Regions from separate parts of the Homo sapiens genome. Here region 1 is linked to region 2. The links are contacts of gene promoters, found by promoter capture Hi-C in human tissues and cell types (Jung and others, 2019). All regions are on one chromosome and are shown on one strand. The core of a region is centred on a gene start or on the middle of the fragment in contact, and the rest is flanking DNA. Distances in the headings are between cores, read along the strand shown. Region 1 holds the start of LOC105379349 (a long non-coding RNA gene). Region 2 holds the start of LEPROTL1 (leptin receptor overlapping transcript like 1).

Evidence for each region. Contacts are between HindIII fragments. The study calls those that stand out against the background at their distance.
Region 1: a contact is called between a fragment that was not itself captured here and the fragment with the promoter of LEPROTL1 in region 2, in 1 of the 25 tissues and cell types used here (spleen).

What each region holds. Positions count from the first base shown.
Region 1 is chr8:29,369,156-29,373,873 of GRCh38, reverse strand. LOC105379349 (a long non-coding RNA gene) reads left to right here and starts at 482. Exons shown (of 3, transcript XR_949623.3): 1 at 482-620; 2 at 1,480-1,590. RefSeq lists an enhancer at 4-93. The HindIII fragment of the contact is 8,265 bases long and covers 1-4,718 here.
Region 2 is chr8:30,093,505-30,098,053 of GRCh38, reverse strand. It overlaps LEPROTL1 (leptin receptor overlapping transcript like 1), which reads right to left and starts at 2,646. Exons shown (of 4, transcript NM_015344.3): 1 at 2,526-2,646. The coding sequence starts at 2,541. RefSeq lists a silencer at 2,339-2,798. The HindIII fragment of the contact is 5,830 bases long and covers 1-4,549 here.

The DNA.
Region 1 (4,718 bases), core at 1,201-3,700, 720 kb after region 2:
ACTCCAGGGGTGGCCAGGACCAGGAGGCAAGATAAGGTAGCCCAGGCAGCACAGGGTCTGGAGTGGAGGCAGGGCACAGGATGGGGATGCCCCATGGGACAACCTCAGCTTCAGGCTGCATAGAATTTTCACGAATCTGGTTAGCATCACTCATTCATTCACTAGAAACATGTGATCCTCAAGTGCAGGGTTTCTCATTCATTTTTTTCGCTGCTGTGGCTCCACTGCCCAGAGCAGCACCCAGCCCTTCTGGGAGTCACTATGTCTTTGTAGCATGAATGCATAATAACATGGCGTTATCTTCTTTGCAAAACCACGGTGGGATCCTCTTCCCCACCGGCCGGGACTGCCTGTGGAAAGGGGCTCCGAAAGCCCCCCTTCTGCTAGGTTCCGGCCATCAGAGGCAGCCGTGTGACCCAGGCAGGCAGCTGGCCAGCGGCTCTGCAGTACTCAGGGCTGAGGATGAGTCAGGAGTTCCTCCGCCCTCAGTACTAGGCTGAAGAGGCTGTGACGCGCCCGGTGGCCCCTCTGGGCAGTGGCTGGCAGCAGAAACACACACGCAGCAGACACACTCGGCTTCCTCGCCTGGAGAGCCGGGAGAGAGCAGTCTCTTCTGTTATGTAAGAGACAGAAGGGGGACTGGGGGGCCTGCGGCTGCACAGGGCCTGCTCCCACTCGGCCTTCTTCCTGAGATCCTTTTCTTCCTTTCACTCCAGCGGATGTGATGAGGAGGAGAAGGGAAGCCTCCTGCCGAGAGCAGCTCCATTCGCTGAGCCCCGGCCCCTTACGGGCTACAAGGGCACTCATCTCCCACTCTCCCTGATCAAGGCCACAGCCTGCAGCGGCTGTCTGGGAAGCACCCTTAGCAAGGGCCCTGCTTGCCACACCCCTGGGCAGTTAGCACCCGGCCTGCCCACTCTGCACCCCTGGCGCTGGGGGCCCGCACCTCCCTGCAGCCTCTCCACTTCCTTCCCTTCTCCTCCTCCCCGGGATTTCCATGGTCAGGAAGGATTTCCCCTGGGTAACCAACTGTCTCTGGGTACAAAGAACTGCCTGTGAAGGCCATCTCCCCAACAGCCTATCAGAGCTCACCTCCTGCTCACCCCTGGGCCGGTCACAGAGGCTTGCTGCGTCTCTGAAGGGCTATCCACGGCCCTTCCACCTGTGCACATCAGTGAGCACTGTGGAGGTTTCAAGAGTCTCTGGGGCGAGCCCACCTGAGCTTACCACCTGCAAGCTCCTACCAGAGAACCTCAGGGAGTGACCTAAGCTGTGCGTTCCTCACTGTCCTCATCTGTAAATTGGGAGCAATCGCATGGTCCCCGTCATAGATCTGTGGTGAGGATCAACTGGGTTCGGGTATCACTTAGAACAGCTGCTGGCAGATAGCAAAGGCATAAGAAACATTCACACCTGTCCTCATCCTACCTGCCCTTCAGGGCCTACCTGGAAGTCTCATCTGGTCTTTCTCTTCTCCAGACTCCCAGTGTACTTCCATCTGCAGCACACAGGACATCACAGATTGTCAACGCTGTCACACAGTACTGCTCTGGTTATTCCTCGTGGTTATCTTTGCTCCTCAGGGAGATGGTGAGTGTCCAGCTCCATGGAAGTCCTCTTGAGCTTGCCAGGTACACAGACCCCCTGCGAGTCTCTGTAAACTTGGGCATTCTGTGTGCTGGGCTCTTGATTTCTTGCAAACTGATTTCAGAATTCACTTATATAAATTTTTTTTTATTTTACTTTTTCTTTTTTCTGTTTATTTAGAGACAAGTTCTCCCTCGGCTGCCCAGACTAGAGTGCAGTGGTGTGATCATAGCTCACTGAAGCCTCAAACTCCTAGGCTCCAGAGATCCTCCCACCTCAGCCTCCTGAGCAGCTGAGACTACAGGCATGCACCCCCACACCTGGCTAATTTTTTAATTTTTTGTAGAGACGGGTCTCACCATGTTGCCTAGGCTGGTCTCAAACTCCTGAGCTCAAGCAAACCTCCCATTTCGACCTTCCAAAGTGTTGGAACTCCAGGTGTGAGCCACCACACCCGGCCCACTTATAGGTTTTTTGAGCTATAATCGCCACTGCACTCCAGTCTGGGCGAAAGACTAAGACCTTTTCTCTTTTCAAAAAAAAAAAAAAAAATATATATATATATATATATATGTAGGTTTTTCATATTTTCATATTTAAGTGCAAACAAGCAAGGCCTATTTTTCAGGAACCTATTACGTGGTAAGTACTATGAGGATGAAAAGACTCATCAATATATCTGCTCAGTTCCAGCCAGAAACCTGTGAGTTACCCAGGCCTGCCCTCCGCTAGTCCCCATCTCCAGCAGTCACTGAGCCCTGTGGCTCCCACCACATCCTTCCCCTCCTGAACTTCCTCTCAGCCACTGCCCTCATCTTGGCCCCCCGTTTCTTGCCGAAACCATGGCAGAAACCCCCTACTGGTCTCTCTGCCTCTAGTCTCTAACCCTAAGACCCCAGAAGTATCTTCCCCAAATACAGTTTAGATCCCGACACTCTTTCATCTCACGCACAGGTGGAATCTAAAAAAGTTGAACTCTTAGAAGCAGAGAGCAGAATGGTGGTGACCAGGGACTGAGGGCTGGGGGAACGGAGTGGGAAGATGTTGGTCAAAGCACACAAAATGTCAGTTACACAAGAGGAACAAGTTCAAGAGACCTATGGTACAACACGGCACGATAGTTAAAACAACGTGTATTGTGGTCTTGACAATCACTAAAAATGTAGATGAGTGTTCTCACTACAAAAAGTAATAAGTATGTGAGGTAATGTATATGTTAATTATCTTAATTTAACACACAAGGCATACATACTTTTTTCGGTGTTTTATTTTGTTTTGTTTTAGACAGGGTCTCACTCTGTTGCCCAGGCTGGAATGCAGTGGCGCCATCCTGGCTCACTGCAGCCTCGAACTCCCGGGCTCAAGTGATCCTCCCACCCCAGCCTCCCCAGTAGCTGGGACTACAGGTGCACACCACCATGCCTGGTTAATTTTTTTGTATTTTTTTGTAGAGATGGAGTTTTGCCATCTTGCCCCAGGCTGGTGTCAAACTCCTGGGCTCAAGCGATCCTCCTGCCTCGGTCTCTCATAGCGCTGGGATTAGAGGCGTAAGTAAGCCACCACGTCAGGCTGGCATACACATTTCAAAACATTGTGTTGTACACCATAAATATATACAATTTTTATTTGACTACTTAAATAATTAATTAATTATTTTTAAAAAGACTCCCAGCATTTCCTGTGGTCTCTGGGATAAAAGTTCAATTTCCACACAAGTCTACAACCTTAACAGCCTCAGCCCCCACCTCCCTCCACTGCATGAATTCCAGACATCCCCCATTTTGTGCCTGGACACACTCTCTTTCTTCCACTGAGAACAACTTTCTTCCCTTACTCTACCTGGCAGCCACCACCCTTCCTTTACAACCAACTCAAATGCCACTTCCCTGGGCTTCCACAAAGTTTGTCTCTGCCTCTTCATGCTCCCACAGAACTTAGTACAATCCTGTATTAGAATACCTGCCACTCGGAATTATCATTGTTTGCAGAAGAATTTCCTCTGCTGGGGAGTGGCTAGGCCTTGTTCATCTGGCACCCATCCCTAGCCTGTAGGAAACGATCAAGAAATACAGGAATGACTTCATGCAAATAGCACTGGAAACTCAAGGACTTACCTCCCATTTTTCTCTTGCCATTTTCAGCAATACTGAACAGAAGAGTGGTTTATAATCACTGTCTCCAACTCTGCTTCTCCCATCTTTCTTGAGTCCACCCCAACTGTTTATCTGCACTACTTCTCTCCAAGGGCACTGGTGACCTCCACATTTTTTAACCCAGTGGTCAGACGTCGGTCCTCCTCTTCCACAGTTGATCCCTCCTCTGCCTGGTCACTTGCTCCTCTGGCGTTCTTTCCCATCTGCTCTCATCAGTGGCTTCTCAGACTTCTTTCTAACTCTCCCTCATCTCCCTAAACTCCTAATGTTAGAGAGTTTCAGAGCTTGATCCTGGGGTCTTTTCCCTATCTATTTTTTTTAGAGACAAGGGTCTCACTGCATTGCCCTGGCTGGAGTGCTGCAGCACCATCATAGTTCACTGTAGCCTGGACCTCCGGGACTCAAGTGATCTTCCCACCTCAGCCTCCTGAGTAACTGGGACTACAGGTGTGCGCCACTATACCCAGCTCTTTTCTCTCTTCCATCTGCACTCACTGTCTTGGTTATCACATGCAGATACATGACATTAAGTGTTATCTCTATGTGGATTATCCCCAAATTTACGACCCCTGCCTATTCTCCTCTCTTGAACCTAAAGCTCCTATGTGCAACTGTACACTCCACGTGACCACTCCACCTCTCAAGCTTGTTCAGCTGAATTCCTGACCCTCCCCTACCCTCCCCAACACCTCTTCTCCAGCAGTCTTCCTCGTGTCAGTGAATTGCAGCTCCCATCTTCTGGCTGCTCAGCTCAGACATCTTAAGTTAGCTTTTGGTTCTTTTTTACTCTTAAGACCTCACCCCCATCCATCGCCAAATTCTGTCACTCTACCTGCAACTTATCTGCAGACCTGGCTAGTCTCACCTGGACTGTTTCAGCAGGCTCCCAACTGGCTTTCCCACTTTGGCCTTTGTCCCCTACAGTCAATTCTCAACATGGTGGCCTGATTGATCCTGGAAAATCCAATCCAGCTCATG
Region 2 (4,549 bases), core at 1,397-3,896:
GCAAGAGGCAAGCCACCTTAGGACCATGAGGGCCTCTGAAGGTGGCTGTTCTGTGACAGAGAACAGTCATTCAAGTTTTTATCAAAAAAGAAGGCCTAAATTCTTTGATTACACTCTTACAAAGTTAATGAAAAATGATTCCTTAAAAAAAAAAAAAAACCAAGGGACTAAAATGAGATAAGGCTCAGGTATCAAAAAACAATTTTAAAAACATAAACCAAGATTGTCTTATTGTAAGTGCTATGAATATGAATACTGGAATAACATTTGTTTGGGGGAATCAAGATACCTTGAGATAATACTTCTACTCCATTAAATACTAAATATGTGTGTGTGTGTGTGTGTGTGTGTGTGTATATATATATATATTTTTTTTTTTTTTGAGACAGAGTCTCACTCTGTTGCCCAGGCTGGAGTGCAGTGGCGTAATCTTGGCTCACTGCAACCTCTGCCTCCCGGGTTCAAGCAATTCCCTGCCTCAGCCTCCTGAGTAGCTGGGATTACAGGTGCCTGCCACCATGCCCAGCTAATTTTTTTGTATTTTTAGTAGAGATGGGGTTTCACCATCTTGGACAGGTTGGTCTTGAACTCCTGACCTCATGATCCATCCGTCTCGGCCTCCCAAAGTGCTGGGATTACAGGTGTGAGCCACCGCGCCAGGATTAAATACTAAATTTTTTTTAAATATTCATAACACAGTTTGATGTGACATCTCATCTTCCAGTCATACCGAATAAGGTAGCCAATTAGAGGTTAAATAAATTGCTTAAAAGTGTTCTCAAAACTTGCAGTTTCTTCAATCTTATGAAATTGGCAACTAGGAAGATTTATATATACACTTCATCATTTGTATATAAGCTGTTTCTTAAATGACACATCAACAAGGCAAGAATTCATACAGTAATTGAGTGATGCAACATTTGGAAGACAAAGCTTAGATAAGTCTGGGTTCTACTCCCAAAGCCTCTAGGCTAGGCATGGAGCAGCCCAATTATCTAGCAAAACTCTCTAGAGACAAGATGCTGATTCTGTGATTACAAAGAAATTAGAGTAGAAGGAGGGACCACTTCTCTAACCTGGGAGTTACCAGAAAATCCAATATATCAAAAAGTAATAGACAAATGGCTCAAGCAATGCCTAATGGTCTCTAATTACAGCAACACTCCTTCCTAATATAAAGATATTAGGCCAAGAGAAAGAAACATACTGACTCATAACAACCAGAAAATCCTGCTGAAATCAAAAGTGCAGTTCACCTGAGGCACCTTCATCAGTTTAATGCAGTATTTCCCTAGGTCTGGAGAAGTAAATTACAAAGCTATTTTCTTAAGAGACCCCCGCATTATTGACACTGAAGAAACAGGGAAGAACAGGGAAACGGGCAACATCCTAAAAACCACAGCAATTCACAATAACTGCCTTTCACATAAGGGTTTAGAGTCTATCATAGTTCAAAAGGAGATTACAAAGTATCCCAGTTGCTTAAATGACAAGGTTTTATATGGGAAATGAAATGTTTTCAGACATTGAAAATAAACAAGAAACAGTAAGACTGTGACCCTGAAAAAAAACTCGATTAAGTTTTCCTTAGAGAAGAAAAAATACAAAGAAAACCACTGCTCCCAAAGTTACCTGCTTCCTGCCTGACTGCCCTTCTACAGAGCGGCAGGTCAAGAAATCAATGTAATTAGTTAAGCAGTAGCTGAAAACTTTGCTTCTCATCACACTGACAACAAAACTACCTAACAGGTGGAACAAATGCAACATTCCTTTTTTTAAAAGAAAATACATGAATAAGCCAGTAGTTTTTCATTAAGTTGTACCAGTATTTTATCTTCTTAAAAAAAAAAAAGGAAAAAAAGAAAAATTTTGAAATTTGAAAAAGCCTCAGGGTGCAACTGCGGAGAGGGAAGAGAGCCAGGAGCACTTTGGGGTCGCCTACAGGATCAACTCTAGGGTCCAGACACCGCAGATGAAAATGCACCCGTTTCGGGAGCCTGTAAAGCCTCGGGCGCGGGCGGCCGGGGTGGACGTGGGGTCGAGGTTTCGGGCAGACCCGTGCAGCGCCCGCAGACCGCACTTGTGCCTTTCGGTGGGAAATGACTGGTTTTCCATAGCTGGCATCTCTAGCAGCCTCAGCCTTCTCAATCCCACGCTCTGCCTGCCTCTCTCTCGGATGCAAACTCCTGCAAAACGTGTGTGGCCGTCCAAGTCGCGACGGGACTCCTCACTGACCGCCAACCACTTCATATTTTGTCCGGGGGGCGATGGGTGGGAGAGAGGCTGCCGAAATCGGCAGAAAGTGGGGGCTGCGGGGCGAAGCCGGGGTCGCAACCGTCCGTTGCCCGAGGGCGCCGCGCCCACCTCCGGGCCAAGCGCAGGGCCGGGGCGGGGGTCGCTTCCCCGGCGCAGGGACCCCACGCGCGCGCGCGAGCCCGGAGGGGAAGTGCGGGGGCCGCGTGGGACCCCCGGCCCATCTTCCCCCGCCGGCCCCAGCCCTCCCGCGTCCTGCAACCCAGGCCCACCTTTGATGCCTGCCATGGCGGTGACGTCGCTCCTGGCTCCACGACCCGAGGCGGCGGCGGCAGCAGCGGCAGCCGGGAGACCCAAGACGCGCTACGGCGGCCAGACAACACCCGGAAGTGCGCGACGCAGCACTTCCGCCGGCGACTCGGGCTCGCGCGGGGGCGCGGGGGACGCGCCGGGCTGGGCTGTGGGGTCGACCCCCTGCCTCTCTTCTCCGCGGGTGTGCAGATCGCCGCCGGCCGAGGCTTGCCGCCGCCGCCCCGACTGGGGGAATGAGCAGGCGCCAGGTCTTGAATTCCTGTCAGGGCCGGTCTGGGGGCTCCCTGCTGAAGCCCCTGTCCCTGATCCCGCAACCTCCCGCGTGCGTTGGGAAGGGGTCGCGGGTAGCGGCCGTCCTTTGGATGCACGTGTGATGGCTTTTGGCTTAATTTCACATTGTTTTGTTTGTTTTTTGAGACAGGGTCTCTTTCGCCCAGGCTGGAGTGTGATCACGGCTACTGCAGCCTCGATCTCCAGGGCTCAAGTGATTCTCTCACGTCGGCCTCGCAGTAACTGGGACCACAGACATGAGCCACCATGCCTGGCTTTTTTTTGTTTTGTTTTGTTTTGTTTTTTGTAGAGACAGGGCGGGGTGTGAGACTCTCATCTTGTTGCCCAAGCTGGTCTCCTGAGCTCAAGGATCTGCCCTCCTCGGCCTCCCAAAGCGCTGGGATTACAGCTTGATACCCTACCTTGTTTTAACCTGATTGACTCGCTCTTAGCTGAGAGAGCGGGACAGACTCCATTTTGGTTTCTTCGCTTGCAGCACCTTGTCCCCCTCCCTTAAGGACATAACTGGTGCAGACTGACACCAAGCACATCCAGGAATGTGCTTACTGATAAGATACTGAGGCAAGCTGTACCAGCAGCTCCTGGGAACGCGCTCGGTTGATGGTACCCAAAGCCCCTGCGTTTATCTCTTTGTGATAATTTAAGCCCCATGCACCTGGAACTGTTTATTTTCCTGTAACTGTTTCTATAACCATTTATCTTTTAACTCTTTGCCTGTTCTGCTTCTGTAAAAATTGCTTCAGCTAGACTACCCCTTCCCTATTTAGACCAAGGTATAAAAAGAAATCTAGCCCCTTCTTCAGGGCCGAGAGAATTTTGAGCTGTAGTCGTCTCTCGGTCGCCGGCAATAAAGGACTCCTGAATTAGTCTCAAAGTGTGGTGTTTCTCTATAACTCGCTCGGTTACGACAACAGGTGTGAGCCACTGCGCACATTATTTTACTGCGCCTTTTCCTCTCTCCCTCCATCCCTCCATCCCCAGTCCTATAATTAAGGTTAGTTGGGTGGTCTGCACTTGGCTCCTTGGTTTCCTATACAGGACTAGGGTTCTGGTGAGGACCCACCTCCAGAGATAGGAGCAGCAGGGCTCAGTAAAGGGTGGATTTAATAGAAATCCAGTCCCTTGGGTGGCTGTCTTTTTGGTAGTAACAAGGCAAGGAAAAAAAAGTGAAAGCCCAGGTTCAACACCTTTATTTACACATCCTACAATTATTTATAGAACATTTACTATGTGTTAGGCACAGGGTTAGACGCTGAGATGTGCAAAACCAGGTACTGTTTGCAGACTGGTGAGGAAGACAGACACACAAAAAATGTAAAATTGCAATAATGATAATTGCTAGTAAAGGGGATCAGAATATGTCACTCTAAAATATGCCACTTTGAAGTCTGGTGTGGTGACTCAGGCATGTGATCCCAGCACATTGGGAGGCTAAGACAGGAGGATCGCTTTGGCCCAGGAGTTGAAGACCAGCCCTGGCAACATAGTGAGACTCCATCTCTACAAAAACGAAAAAAAAATTAGCCAGGCTTGGTGTGTGCCTGTAGTTCCAGCTACTTGGGAGGCTGAAGTAGGAGGATTGCTTGAGCCTAGGAGGTCGAGGCTGCAGTGAGCTCTGATTGTGCCACTGCCTGGGCAACAAAGCAAGACTCTGTCTCCAAACAAACAAATAAATGTCAGGCCTCTGAGCCCA